Regions from separate parts of the Homo sapiens genome. Here region 1 is linked to region 2. The links are contacts of gene promoters, found by promoter capture Hi-C in blood cells and fetal thymus (Javierre and others, 2016). All regions are on one chromosome and are shown on one strand. Each heading gives the region's core, a stretch centred on a gene start or on the middle of the fragment in contact. The rest is flanking DNA. Distances are from core to core; before and after follow the strand shown.

Evidence for each region. The method cuts DNA at HindIII sites, captures the fragments that hold promoters and counts their contacts. A CHiCAGO score of 5 or more calls a contact.
Region 1: the fragment with the promoter of TET2 here is called in contact with the fragment with the promoter of DNAJB14 in region 2 in 1 of 17 cell types (neutrophils); the score reaches 5.5 in neutrophils.

Annotation. Positions count from the first base shown.
Region 1 is chr4:105,145,151-105,151,389 of GRCh38, forward strand. It overlaps TET2 (tet methylcytosine dioxygenase 2), which reads left to right and starts at 1,726. Exons shown (of 11, transcript NM_001127208.3): 1 at 1,726-1,829. It overlaps LOC124900868, which reads right to left. Exons shown (of 3, transcript XM_047416559.1): 2 at 345-1,811. The coding sequence ends at 1,123. RefSeq lists silencers at 988-1,667, 2,631-2,700 and enhancers at 1,738-1,907, 2,251-2,300. The HindIII fragment of the contact is 4,110 bases long and covers 1-1,954 here.
Region 2 is chr4:99,942,947-99,949,434 of GRCh38, forward strand. It overlaps DNAJB14 (DnaJ heat shock protein family (Hsp40) member B14), which reads right to left and starts at 3,672. Exons shown (of 8, transcript NM_001031723.4): 1 at 3,493-3,672. The coding sequence starts at 3,625. It overlaps H2AZ1 (H2A.Z variant histone 1), which reads right to left. Exons shown (of 5, transcript NM_002106.4): 3 at 6,327-6,440; 4 at 5,865-5,994; 5 at 5,142-5,577. The coding sequence ends at 5,516. RefSeq lists enhancers at 3,056-3,105, 5,983-6,488, 6,070-6,119 and a silencer at 3,276-3,935. The HindIII fragment of the contact is 11,087 bases long and covers 1-6,488 here.

The sequences.
Region 1 (6,239 bases), core at 476-2,975, 5.2 Mb after region 2:
TGTTTCAAAATGGAATAAACAAAGTTTGATTGGACCCACTAAACATTCTTCTTAGCAACAATGCGACACTTGCAAGGAGTTCCCTTTTTCACACTCTTCAAAGAGGAAATATTCCGATTTCGTAAAATTAGGGCTTCGCTTTTAAAAAAAATTACAGACCAAAAAAAGTGTGGTTACACAATATAACTAGTATTGACTTAAGGGTACTGTGATCACCATGCAGTGATCCCATAAAAGATGTGACCAAAATACCCACTTAAAATTTGAACGTCAGTCATGTAAGAACATGTAAAAGATGAAGGGAATATTTCAAAAACGACTATCTGACGTAATATGATACTTACTATGACTCATATGGGCTTTGTTCTTCATCTCATCTTCAAATAAAAAGTTGATGATTAGAAAAAGGAGCATTAGAAGGGGGAAGTAACACTACTCGGCAATAGAGAAAAACTCCGGTCAAAGGAAGAGCATAGTTACAGAGCTCCGAATGTCAGGGAAAATCAAGCATCCGTCATTCGGAATTAGCTCTGTATCGGTCGGTTTCTTCATTACTTAATTGTACGGGGGGAAACTACTTCAAAGTAAGGGCTCTTACGAGAGGCAACTTAAGCATTTGAAAGTGCAGGTTTATTTCCTCCTAGCGAGAAGTAGGGGGTCACTAGTGAGAAACCTATTTCAATCTGTGAGACGCCCCCTTCTACTCAGCCCACGTGGCTAAAGTAAACAGAAGGTGGGCCGGGGCGGGGAGAAACAGAACTCGGTCAATTTCCCAGTTTGTCGGGTCTTTAAAAATACAGGCCCCTAAAGCACTAAGGGCATGCCCTCGGTGAAACAGGGGAGCGCTTCTGCTGAATGAGATTAAAGCGACAGAAAAGGGAAAGGAGAGCGCGGGCAACGGGATCTAAAGGGAGATAGAGACGCGGGCCTCTGAGGGTAAGGTGGGCGCAAGCGGAGGTGTGGTGCGGGGAGAGGTGCCAGTGGGTGGAGGCGGGGGCCAGAGCGAGGGCACGTGCGGGTACACTCCGGAGGAGGTGGGTGCGCGCGGGGGCGTGTGCGCGGGACCTCGAAGTGGTGGTGGAGTGCAGACCAGCAAAAAGTTTCAAAGGGAAATCTTAGATGTCACGTCTTTGTCCAGGCACCCGTGCCATCCCAACCTCCCACCTCGCCCCCAACCTTCGCGCTTGCTCTGCTTCTTCTCCCAGGGGTGGAGACCCGCCGAGGTCCCCGGGGTTCCCGAGGGCTGCACCCTTCCCCGCGCTCGCCAGCCCTGGCCCCTACTCCGCGCTGGTCCGGGCGCACCACTCCCCCCGCGCCACTGCACGGCGTGAGGGCAGCCCAGGTCTCCACTGCGCGCCCCGCTGTACGGCCCCAGGTGCCGCCGGCCTTTGTGCTGGACGCCCGGTGCGGGGGGCTAATTCCCTGGGAGCCGGGGCTGAGGGCCCCAGGGCGGCGGCGCAGGCCGGGGCGGAGCGGGAGGAGGCCGGGGCGGAGCAGGAGGAGGCCCGGGCGGAGGAGGAGAGCCGGCGGTAGCGGCAGTGGCAGCGGCGAGAGCTTGGGCGGCCGCCGCCGCCTCCTCGCGAGCGCCGCGCGCCCGGGTCCCGCTCGCATGCAAGTCACGTCCGCCCCCTCGGCGCGGCCGCCCCGAGACGCCGGCCCCGCTGAGTGATGAGAACAGACGTCAAACTGCCTTATGAATATTGATGCGGAGGCTAGGCTGCTTTCGTAGAGAAGCAGAAGGAAGCAAGATGGCTGCCCTTTAGGATTTGTTAGAAAGGAGACCCGACTGCAACTGCTGGATTGCTGCAAGGCTGAGGGACGAGAACGAGGTCAGAGCGCTTCTCTTATGCCGCGAAACTCTCCCTTTCTTCTCCCCTTCGCTTTTTCTCGGGCTTCCAGGGACTGGGGAGCAAACCCTGTAGTGTCACCCACAAATACCAAGAGGGAAGAGGGAAGCTTCACAAATTACTGGAGCCTCTTCAACATGGCTGACAAATATAGTTTTAATTCCCTCTACCCCTTTTAAACCTGTAGTTCTGTGTTCTCTTCTCTCCTCCTAATGCTCGTCCCCTCATCTCCCAGAAAACTTACCTTTGTGCCTCCGACGAGCCGGTTTCCCGGCCTTTTTTAATCCTCAGAAAAGTGATTTTTAAATTTGCTTTCCTTTCTAAAATAGTTCAGCTTTGGGGGCACTACTTTTCCCTTTAATCCTCTTCCCCTGTTTCTTTCGTGTAAGTGAAACGAGTCTCCCGTTTATCCTGAACAACCTCAGAGAGAACACTGATAGGGTGTTTTTCGACCCTTTTATCAGCTGTAGGGTCTGGGTCTGGGTTTGTGTCTGCCTCCTCCTACCTTCTTATCCCCCTTTAGGGGGCTGTACGAAGTGAATGTCACAGGGAGTGGAATTGGAGTACACTGAGTGGGTTTTTTTTTTCCTTAAGTCCGCGCGTTTTGTTAGCGGCGCTGAGTGAAAGAGGAAAGAATAGTTTCTCTGGTTCCCCAAACAAGACCAGAACTCACTTTTCTCAAGGTACATAAGTCAGCGCTGGGCTGAGCCTTCCAGCCTGGGGAATGTATGTAAGAGAATTTATGGACAAATCTGTGTCCCGGCTTTGTGCTTCTCCCGAATCAGCTTCGTTTGGTTCCTTGGTAAGTGACAGGCAGACACAAAGGCAGGCGCAGGCCCGGGGAGGGGGCGGGAGGGGGTGGGGAGCGCAGCGTTGGAGTTGCAAGACTGCAAGGTCAGGGGCGCCTAAAGAAATGAAACCCAATCCCAGCAAAGAAGTGAAGAGCAGATTTATAACAGTCCCATCCAAATTTCTCTTTGGCTTCTCTCTTTGGTCTTTCATCTCTCTGCCTTTCTCTCTGTGTCTCCTCTCTACTCTTTCTTCTCTCTCTCTCATACACATACACACACACACACACACACACACCTCACTCGCATCTTGCTGAATCTTTTCACTGGGACTGCTTGTCTAGTTTTATTAAGCTAATAGGGTTTGTATGGAGAGTTTTCTACCTATGACATAATGAAGTGTGGCCTGGATAGACTCCTGGAAAGGCCGAAAATGAAATATAAGTGTTATTTGCTGGTTATTCCCCTCATGATATACTTTTAATTACATTGAGGGAGTTCTCCCTTCTTCATCTAATGTTTAAGAATTGAGAAAAGGCTTATTTTCCAGCGGTAAAATTTAGTGCATAAAATTTAGTGAAATATTTATATATTTACGTGTCTAGGGAGTGGAATACATTCATGAATTTAATATCTCAAATCACACATTGTGCTTTTTCCCCTTCAGTCAGGGATTATAATGGGAAACCCAAATTCAAAGATATTCATCAACAAATGATCCATCATAGGAATAAGATTGTATCTTAAGGGAAGTTGGGATTCACAGAGAAAAGACATTGGTTTGGTTTGGTGTGATACTGTGGGTATTGTTGCCTGGCTAATGAAATCATTACATTTGCATTTTAATGGAAAGTTGAAATACTAAGGGGAGTTATGTTCTTTTACATGTTTGTATGTGTGCTTAATAATGTTTGGAATAGAATATAAATTTAAACACAATAAATATTGATTTTTTTAAATGTTAATAAGCAGAGAACGGTTAATGAAGTGTTGGATAATCAAACTGAAGTTTAGAAGACAATTTATAGGATTAAAAAATGGATAGAAGGAAAAACACAATAATAGATATTTCTCCATAAGTCGAATTTCCAAAACTATTTGTCCTCGATAGTTCACTTTGTAACTTTCTATTTTGATCTTTGTTAATTTAATGTAGTTTGCTTTAATCATTGATACGTGGGGTTCTTTCACATGATTACAAGGGAGAAGCATTACTCATCTCTGTGGAATAGAAACGGTTCATTGGTTAGTTCTTATTTGCCCTAAAATTAAAACAAAAATTAGGATTTTACCATTAATGCTGTTCATGGTAAACTATCGAGAAAACTATGGTTAATTATTCCAGCAATTCAGAATTAAAAACAATTCCTTTTGCTAACAAACTAATATTTACTTTTTGGGGACAACTTTTCAAATGTTGTGGTATATACTGTCTTCAGGCTACTCAACTAATAATAGATACAACATTTTCCACTCAATAAATAAGAATAACTACATTGGTTAATAATTTTGAATACAACTATGAAGGCTTGTTTTTTCCTGTCATCAAATTTAGATTCTTGTTATTTTGTGCATCCTACTTTTATACTGAAAATAGCTGCTAATTAATACTGTATAAAGTATTTCAGTGATTATAAGGAAGAGATGTGTATGTTAGTCACTTTATCCTTTGTTGGAAAAGAGAAATTATTTTAATAAGTATGGGGTAGTTTACAATAAAAGACATAACCTCAGTTCTTTCTTTACCATATATGTGATCATACTACCTAGGTGCTCCAAAAATTCCATAGGACTGTCTTGGGTTATTGAATTTTAGGAACATGATAATGGACAATAACAAGATAGATAGCTTTTCTTAACTATGACATTGTTTTGCTTATTTTCTTATTGAACTAATCATCAATGAGAAATTAAGTTGCAGTGAGAGAAATCCCTTGCTTTGTTTAAATTGTCATATTTGCCAAACTCTTCTTAAGGCTTTAATTAGGTCTGATGTGCCAGTTTATGCCAGAAGCCGGAGGAATTGATATGATTTTGAGGCAGTGGCACATGGTCCTACTAGACATTGGCAAGTGAATATCACTTCCAGAACAAGTGAAGTGCACCTGCCAAGGAGTTGTTATGAAAGAATTCCAAAGTCCTTATTGGGCACTGGTCTTGTATTAGGTAACAACAACTGGAGTTAATGTTTTAGTTTCACTTGTTGAAGTTAAAAGTTCCCTATCAATTCTTCTAAGACTCCACCCCCAAACAATGTTGTAAGTCAAATGTCACTATTGAAATGTATTTCCTTAATTACTGACCTCATTAAGAAGCCCTTCTTATGATTCATAGGCACACCTCACAGAAACTCTATTTTCCATCCTGCCCAAAGTCTGAGTAGGTAAATTCTTATGAATTCTTATGAAATTACCTTGAAATAAAATATCTTCAAAAGTTACGGATGCTAGACATTGTATAATGTCAATATTTTAGAATATCTAATATTTAGAAAATCTTAGATCTACTTTTTATGCTTTAATTGCTTCTAATGCAAGTTAAATTGTTTTTGTTGTTATTGTTTTAATAGAATTTCATAGTCTTATCTAGCAATTTCAAATCGCTGGAAAGAGTCATCTTTGTTATATAAATAACCATGTAGACTGTTTTAATGTTATTGTTTCCTACCTTGGGAACAGGCTAAAACTTTGGACCAGCTGTCAGTATTTGTTCATCAGAATAACACTTTGTCAATGATTATTCTACCATTGCACAGTAGTTCTTAAGGATAGTAATGGTACCAAAGCCAGCAGCAATAGAATATCTCCCAAGCCAACTTTACAATTGGAGCCTTCACTGTGGGAAAGACCAGTTGCCAAGTAGAGCTGGTGGTTATCTGGGAAACTGTGCTGAAGAACACAACCACAAATGATTTTGCCAAATATACAGTATTTACTTGGTCTAGATCTCCAATTTCTATTTCTACTCACTGCCAAAACTGAGTGAATACTGTGACATTATTGAAGGAGGTTATGCAGTACATCTGTTGGTTTGGTATATAGTAGGAGAGAAGGGTTCCAGGAGGGAAAGGGGAAAGTCAGAGCATGTGAATCACTGTGACTACAATCCAAAAAGAATTATGTATGTCTGCTATTTCCAGCATTATTTTTGTCCTATATTGTACATTGCAGAGACTTGCTGACTTAAAATAGATATATAATCTTTTTCTCAAAAGAATAGATATTTGGTTGTCCATTCCAAATAACAAATTTTGGATGGGCGTGGTGACTCATGCCTGTAATCCTAGCACTTTGGGAGGCCAAGGTGAGAGATCACTTGAGGCCAGGAGTTTGAAACCACCCTGGGCAACACAGTCAGGCCCCAGTCTCTACAAAAAATTTAAAAAGTTAGTGGGGCATGGTGGTACATTCCTGTAGTCCCAGCTACTCAGGAGACTGAGATAGGAGGATGGATTGAGCTCAAGTGTTCTAACTTATAGTGAGCTCTGATCACACCACTGCGCTCCAGCCCAGGCAAGAGGGAGAGACCCTATCTCAAACAGCGACAACAACAAAACCAAACAAACAAAAAAGCACATTCTATCAGCTTTGATTTATGTTTTCTT
Region 2 (6,488 bases), core at 2,422-4,921:
TTAAAATCTAATTGTAACCAATAGCTTCGACTTCCTTCTATATGAAATATTTTATCAGGATCTCACACAAATGTCCTAGATCTTTCTCTCTCCTGAATTCTTAAATTGTACCAATAAACATCTTCTAGAATGTTCTATATAAAATACACTTCTCTGAGTACTGGCATATAACTTTATTTCAGCTCACATAAATCCTGTGATGACATCTTCACTTTACATATAACTAAAGAAGGCTCAGAGGAGTTAAGTAATTTGTCACTGGTGAAAAAGGAGTCAGAGAAAACATCTGCATCTGAACTAAGGTTTTTGGACTACACAGTTATCCCCTATCACTTTATTTGGTAATCACATACTGCCTTACATTTGTACTACCAACTTTCACCCTTACATTTCTTAATTTTTCCAACATTCATGTCCTTAAGAGCAACAAACTGTGTTGTGCTTTGGTATCTTATAATATCTTTTAGGAGATTTATTCAAATTGTTTGCATGACAGAAGCATGATAGTGTGTACATTTGGGTGGGTTTTAAGAATTCTCAGAGCTTCACACTTGTAAAATGGGGATGACACCAAAATTAATTGAGTGCTTACTGTTAAATGCTTTACCTGTATTAACCCATTTAATCCTCACAACAGCACTATGAGATCAGTACATTGTCTCCATTTTACAGACGAAAAAGCTAAAGGCTAGAGAGGTTCTCTACCCTGCTCAAAAATAAGGTTACAAGCTAGTAGGTGGAGTCAGACTTCAAAAGCCAAGTTATTCTGTCTAGACTGCCTACTCACTTAATGTTAAAACTGTCCCTCTAGGACTAGATAATGACTAAATGAAATCATATTCAACAGTAGGGGAGGATTCAAAAATAATTAACTCCTGGCAATGATTTCTTGAATATGACAGCAAAAGCACAAAAAAACAAAGCAAAAATAGAAAAATGGCACTACAACAAACTTAAAAACTTATGTGCATCAAATAGCACCATCAACAAAGTGATGAAAAGGCAACATATAAATAGGAGAAAACATCTGCAAATCACATATCTGATAAGGGGTTAATATCCAGAATAAATAAGGAACTCCTACAACTCAACAAAAAAAAAACAAGTAATGTGATTTAAAAATGGGCAAAGGACTTGAACAGACATTTTCTCCAAAAATGGGATATTATAAAACTAGCCAATAAGCATATGAAAAGATGCTCAACATCACTAATCATCAGAGAAATGCAAATCAAAGCCACAATGAGATATCACCTCCCACTCAAGGATGGGTACTATCAAAACCAACAAAAACAGAAAATAGGTGTTGGCAAGGATGGTGAGAAACTGAAACCCTATGTACTGTTCGTGGGAAAGTAAAATGGTGCAGGCGCTACAGAAACTGTATTGTGGTTCCTCAAAAATTAAAAATAGAATTACTGTATGATCCTACAATCCCACTTCTTGGTATCCAAAATAATTGAAAGCAGGCTCTTTGCATATCCTTGTTCATAGCAGCATTATTCATAATAGCCAAGAGGTGAAAGGAACCCAAATGTCCATAGACAGATGAATGGATTAACAAAATGTGGTGTATATATACAATGGAATATTATTCAGTTTTTTTACTGTAGCTTTTTTTTGGTCTTTTTTTTTTTGTTTTTTTGAGATGGAGTCTCGCTGTGTCGCCCAGGCTGGAGTGCAGTGTTGCCATCTCGACTCACTGTAACCTCCATCTCCCGAGTTCAAGCGATTCTCCTGCCTCAGCATCCCCTAGTAGCTGGGATTACAGGCATGCACCACCACGCCTGGCTAATTTTTTTGTATTTTTAGTAGAGATGGCGTTTCATCATGTTGGCCAGGCTGGTCTCGAACTCCTCACCTCAAATGATCCGCCCGCCTCGGCCTCCCAAAGTGCTGGGATAACAGGCGTGAGCCACCGCGCCCAGCCTAATCAGTATTTTTTTAAAGAGGAATTCTTCACGTTACAACATAAATGAAACTTGGGAACATTATGCTAAGTGAAGTAAGACAGTCACAAAAAGATACTGCATGAATCTACCTATCTGAGGTAACTAAAGTAGTTAAATTCACAGAAACACAAAGTAGAATGGTAGTTGCCAGGGTCTTAGGAGACGGGGCGGTAGGGAGCTGTCTGATTAGTACACAGTTGTGTTGTAAGATGAAAAAGTTCTGAAGAGTCCTTGCACAACAATGTCAATATACTTCACTAATGGACTGCACACTTAAAAATAGTTAAGACCGTAAATTTGGCAGGTTTTTAAACCACAACTTAAAAAATTATTAACTCTTTTCTTTCATTTTATTTTCCTGTCCTCATGGGTATAGTGTTAGAAGGCAATGTAATGGAAAGGATAGAGAGAAAAGCAAAGAGCACAGGGCTTCAACGACGTAGAGAAAAAAATTTAAGAGACAACAAAACAAGTGGCCCCATATTTTCATTAATAATTTTCTACAATTAATTGAATCTATCGATAACTTTCTTCTTAACCTGGAAATACTAATGGCAAGGCAACAGTGTAGCGGTTAAAGGCCTTTTCGAGTCTGAAAGTTCAGCTACTATTCTGACTTTGCTACTAATTGTTGTGTGACCTTGGGTAAGATACTTTCATTCATTCGCTAATTCATTCATTAATTATCAGAAAGTCTGTTTCCACGTGGGTAAACCTGGTCAAATGAATCCTGCACCTCTACACAGAATTGTTCTGAGGAATAAATGAAATAATCCATGCAAAATGTTGGGCACAACTATTGGCACTTTGTGCTCAATAAATGTTGGCTATTATTACTCCGAAGCCTATCGAGTAGGAAAATAAATAAGCTGACTTCAACTAAAGGAAACCCAGTACCATATTCCTCAGAGATTTGGTTCGTCGATAATCATGGTGTTATCAAATCAGATACTCTTCAGCAATCATTACTGACTCTTGACCATTCTTGCCGAAAGTGTGCTCTTCTCTTTTAAAGGAACTCTCTCCCAGGGAAAAGCAATGTCATCTCAGGTATTCGATGTTTGCTTTGGGAACAGTTTTCTACAGATCTCAGAAACATGGAATCTGAGATTAGCCACTAGAGTACACCATTCCTCTCACTTCGATAGGGGCCTAGGCCTTATGTAGGACTGAGAATGGGGAGGGAGGGGGCCACATAAACAACACAGATACAAATAAAGCCTCACTGTGGTAAGACGGGACCAGACAAGTCTCCTCCAGGGAGAATGAAACCCGGACATTTAGGACAGCGGAACGCGGAGCCGGCGGGCAGGCGGGTGCAGAGGAACCTCGCGCAGCATTCCCCGAGCCCCAGCCCGGAGCCGGGGCTGGGGCCAGGGCGGGGGTGTGTCGGGATGCTCCCCACCGGGCCTGGGGCTGGGGCTGGCTCAGACAGGCCGGGGGCCCCGCAGGCCTCCAGGAGGGGCCGAGGTGGGGGCAGGGGCGGGCTACGCGGTGGTCTGGGGATTGGGCAGGAAGAGAAGGGACGCTGAGGTCTCACCGCGGGCCGAGGGCAGTGGGTAGAGCTTCTCGGCCTTCTGCAGGAAGCGCTGGGCCTTCTCGCGGTTGCCGGCGTTCAGGGCCTCCCGGGCGATCTCGACACATTTCTCAGCCTCATCCCTGTTCCCCTCCATAGCTTGCTCCTTCTTCCGTTTCCTCCGGCAGCGCAGCTAAGAAGGGCGGAAGCCGCCGCCGCGGAGGAGGCGAGGCGGGACCGGCTGGGGGCGTGCGGCGGCAGCGGGGAGGAGCGCAGGGGACCGCGGCAGCGGCTGCGACGGCCCGGGCGGACGGGCGGGCCTCGCAGCTCCGCCTCCTCACGGCGGCCTCCCCGCCCCCCGCGGGCCCCTAGGGCGCGATCCGCATCCGTCCCGGCCCAGGACCAACCTCCTGGGCCGGGGCGTCCGAGCTGACTCGGTGGTCCGCGCACGGCGCCAGCAGGCTCGAAGCGGACCTGCCCGGGAGGCGGACGATAGCAGCCGGGCTGCCCATCGCGGGGAGGGGTTCCGCCCGGGACCCGATTGCCGGCATTGGTAGCGCCGTGCCCTGTGACCTCCAGGCGAGGCCCTCGCAGCTCAGGCCAGGAGGACAGGGTCCGGGAAGGGGACACTCGTTTTCAGTAAAATTGCCAGGACTTGGAGGTTCCGCCTCTGGGCCCCTCAAGCGAGGGAGGATGCGGTCAGGTGAGGACCAAGGTGTCAGTCCAGTCTCAGCACTTCCGGGACACGTTAGAGCGTCGTTTGAACCTAATCTTAGGGCTTGTATGGCAGCCTTATTTCAGCTACATTTTTTCTGACCCGGATGTCTGGCTATCCAAAGTACAAAGCAGTTTAATTTGTAGCTTGCAACGAGTGGTGCAGATCGACCTTAATCCTGTGTAGCCAAAACAAGGCAGGAATCAGCCCCTCAGGGGCTGCCCTAACGAAAGCAAACTTTTGATTTCACCTTTTCCGTCCCATTTGGATAACATTACCACTTGGAAGTACCGTGTCTTGTTAGTCTTCGCGGTGGGGGTGGGGGGAATGTTTGCTATGTGCAAATTTTTTAAAAAAAAACATGACAAACTGTCAAAATGACCTGCTCAACCCAACCACAAGGTAACAATTTTTACATAATGCTGTGAGCCAAGCTGTTAATTCTGCTAACTACCATAACTCGGTACTTTCAAATAAGAAACCCTGCTTCTCTTCGATAAAATGGAGATAGTATATCCCCAATGATGTTACTGAGTACTTAACAACTTCAGACTTCAAAGCAGGGCCTGGCACGTAGCACTATTATCTTTAAAGTTTAAATTCGGAGTTCATTCTGTGGATATACAGGACATTCCTACCTATTCTCTCCCTCCCCAAGTCCACCATGCTAACAGCATACTAGTGCAGTGCTGTCACACAGCAAGCGAAGCCAATGTACAAACTGAAATGGTCACACTTAGCCTAAGAAACTGACAATCCCACTCCAGCTCCTGCCAACTTTTTAAATTAAAACTTTAGTAGCTCATATAACATTAAAAAAATATACTTGGGCTATCTCACTTTGTTGATCTACAGATTTGACAGTTCAGTCACAAAGAAATGTGCTTAGTTATTGCTGCTAGATGAGATACTCAAAACAAGTTCCTATTACAACCAAGCAAATTTAATACACAACTAGTTTGGGATATGACCTTTATTGAACTTATCCACCAGAGTGGAAATAATGTCTGTACAAAACCAAATGTTTGTTACTATAACTTCTGCATCACAATTAAAATCCAAACAGTTTTTTAAAAACAGTCAACTCAATCAAAACCCACTACTTCAGAATCAATAGCTTCTTTGAAGCCACAGTAACACTTAAATATGGTTAAGACTCGAATGCAGAAATTTGGTTGGTTGGAAAGCTAATTAAACTTCCAACTTGCTCAAATAGAATTACAAAAAGGCAAAATTGTGTTTTTCACAGAGATACAGTCCACTGGAATCACCAACACTGGACAGCTGTTAGAGTATTTAGAGTCCTGAGATAACAAGGAATCCAGGCATCCTTTAGACAGTCTTCTGTTGTCCTTTCTTCCCAATCAGAGATTTGTGGATGTGTGGAATGACACCTAGGAGAGTGACAGGAATTAATTCTACTTAAGATTTTTTAAAAAATCACAGTATTTGAAACCAAGAAAGTGTATACTGTTCAACTTGAAAGGTATCTTTAAAAACATGCAGCTCAAGTATGAAGTAAAAATTCATTGAGTTATACATATAAATCAAATTTCATGATACAACCATACTTCCATCATTGAAAATATACTTAAATTTCCTCTCCTGGAAAAACTAATTAAAAGCAGCAAAAAATTCCTTCCTCTGAAGAAATTTTTTAAAATGTTAGAAGTTAACATACCACCACCAGCAATTGTAGCCTTGATGAGAGAATCCAATTCTTCATCTCCACGAATAGCAAGTTGCAAGTGACGAGGGGTAATACGCTTTACCTTTAAGTCTTTTGATGCATTTCCTGCCAGTTCAAGTACCTAAAAGGCAGAATCTGTCAGTTGCCTTCCAACTTTCCTTTGGCCAAGATTCAGAGAACAGAATAAAACCCTCACAAACGCAGATCTACCAACTGGAATCGTTCCTCACTATCTGACTGGCAAGATATACAGGGGGCACGCAATTTTAATTCCAAGAGCAGAGAACTCAAGCTCAGTAGGATCCTTGTTGAACACCAGCTCCCTCTAGCGTTCTCTTAGGCCTCTCGCCGCGTTCAGGGCCTGGGAGTTTTCTTGCATCACTTTCCTCCTTCCCTCTTGCCGCCTCCCCGCCCCCCAAACCTTCTCCGGATTATAGGCGTTCACCCATTTACCTCTGCGGTGAGGTACTCCAGGATGGCTGCGCTGTACACAGCGGCAGTCGCGCCCACACGTCCATGACTGGTCGTCCTAGATTTTAGGTGTCGATGAATACGGCCCACTGGGAACTTAAATTTTAAGCATACACAAACATAAATGCACAAAAATGAGAACTA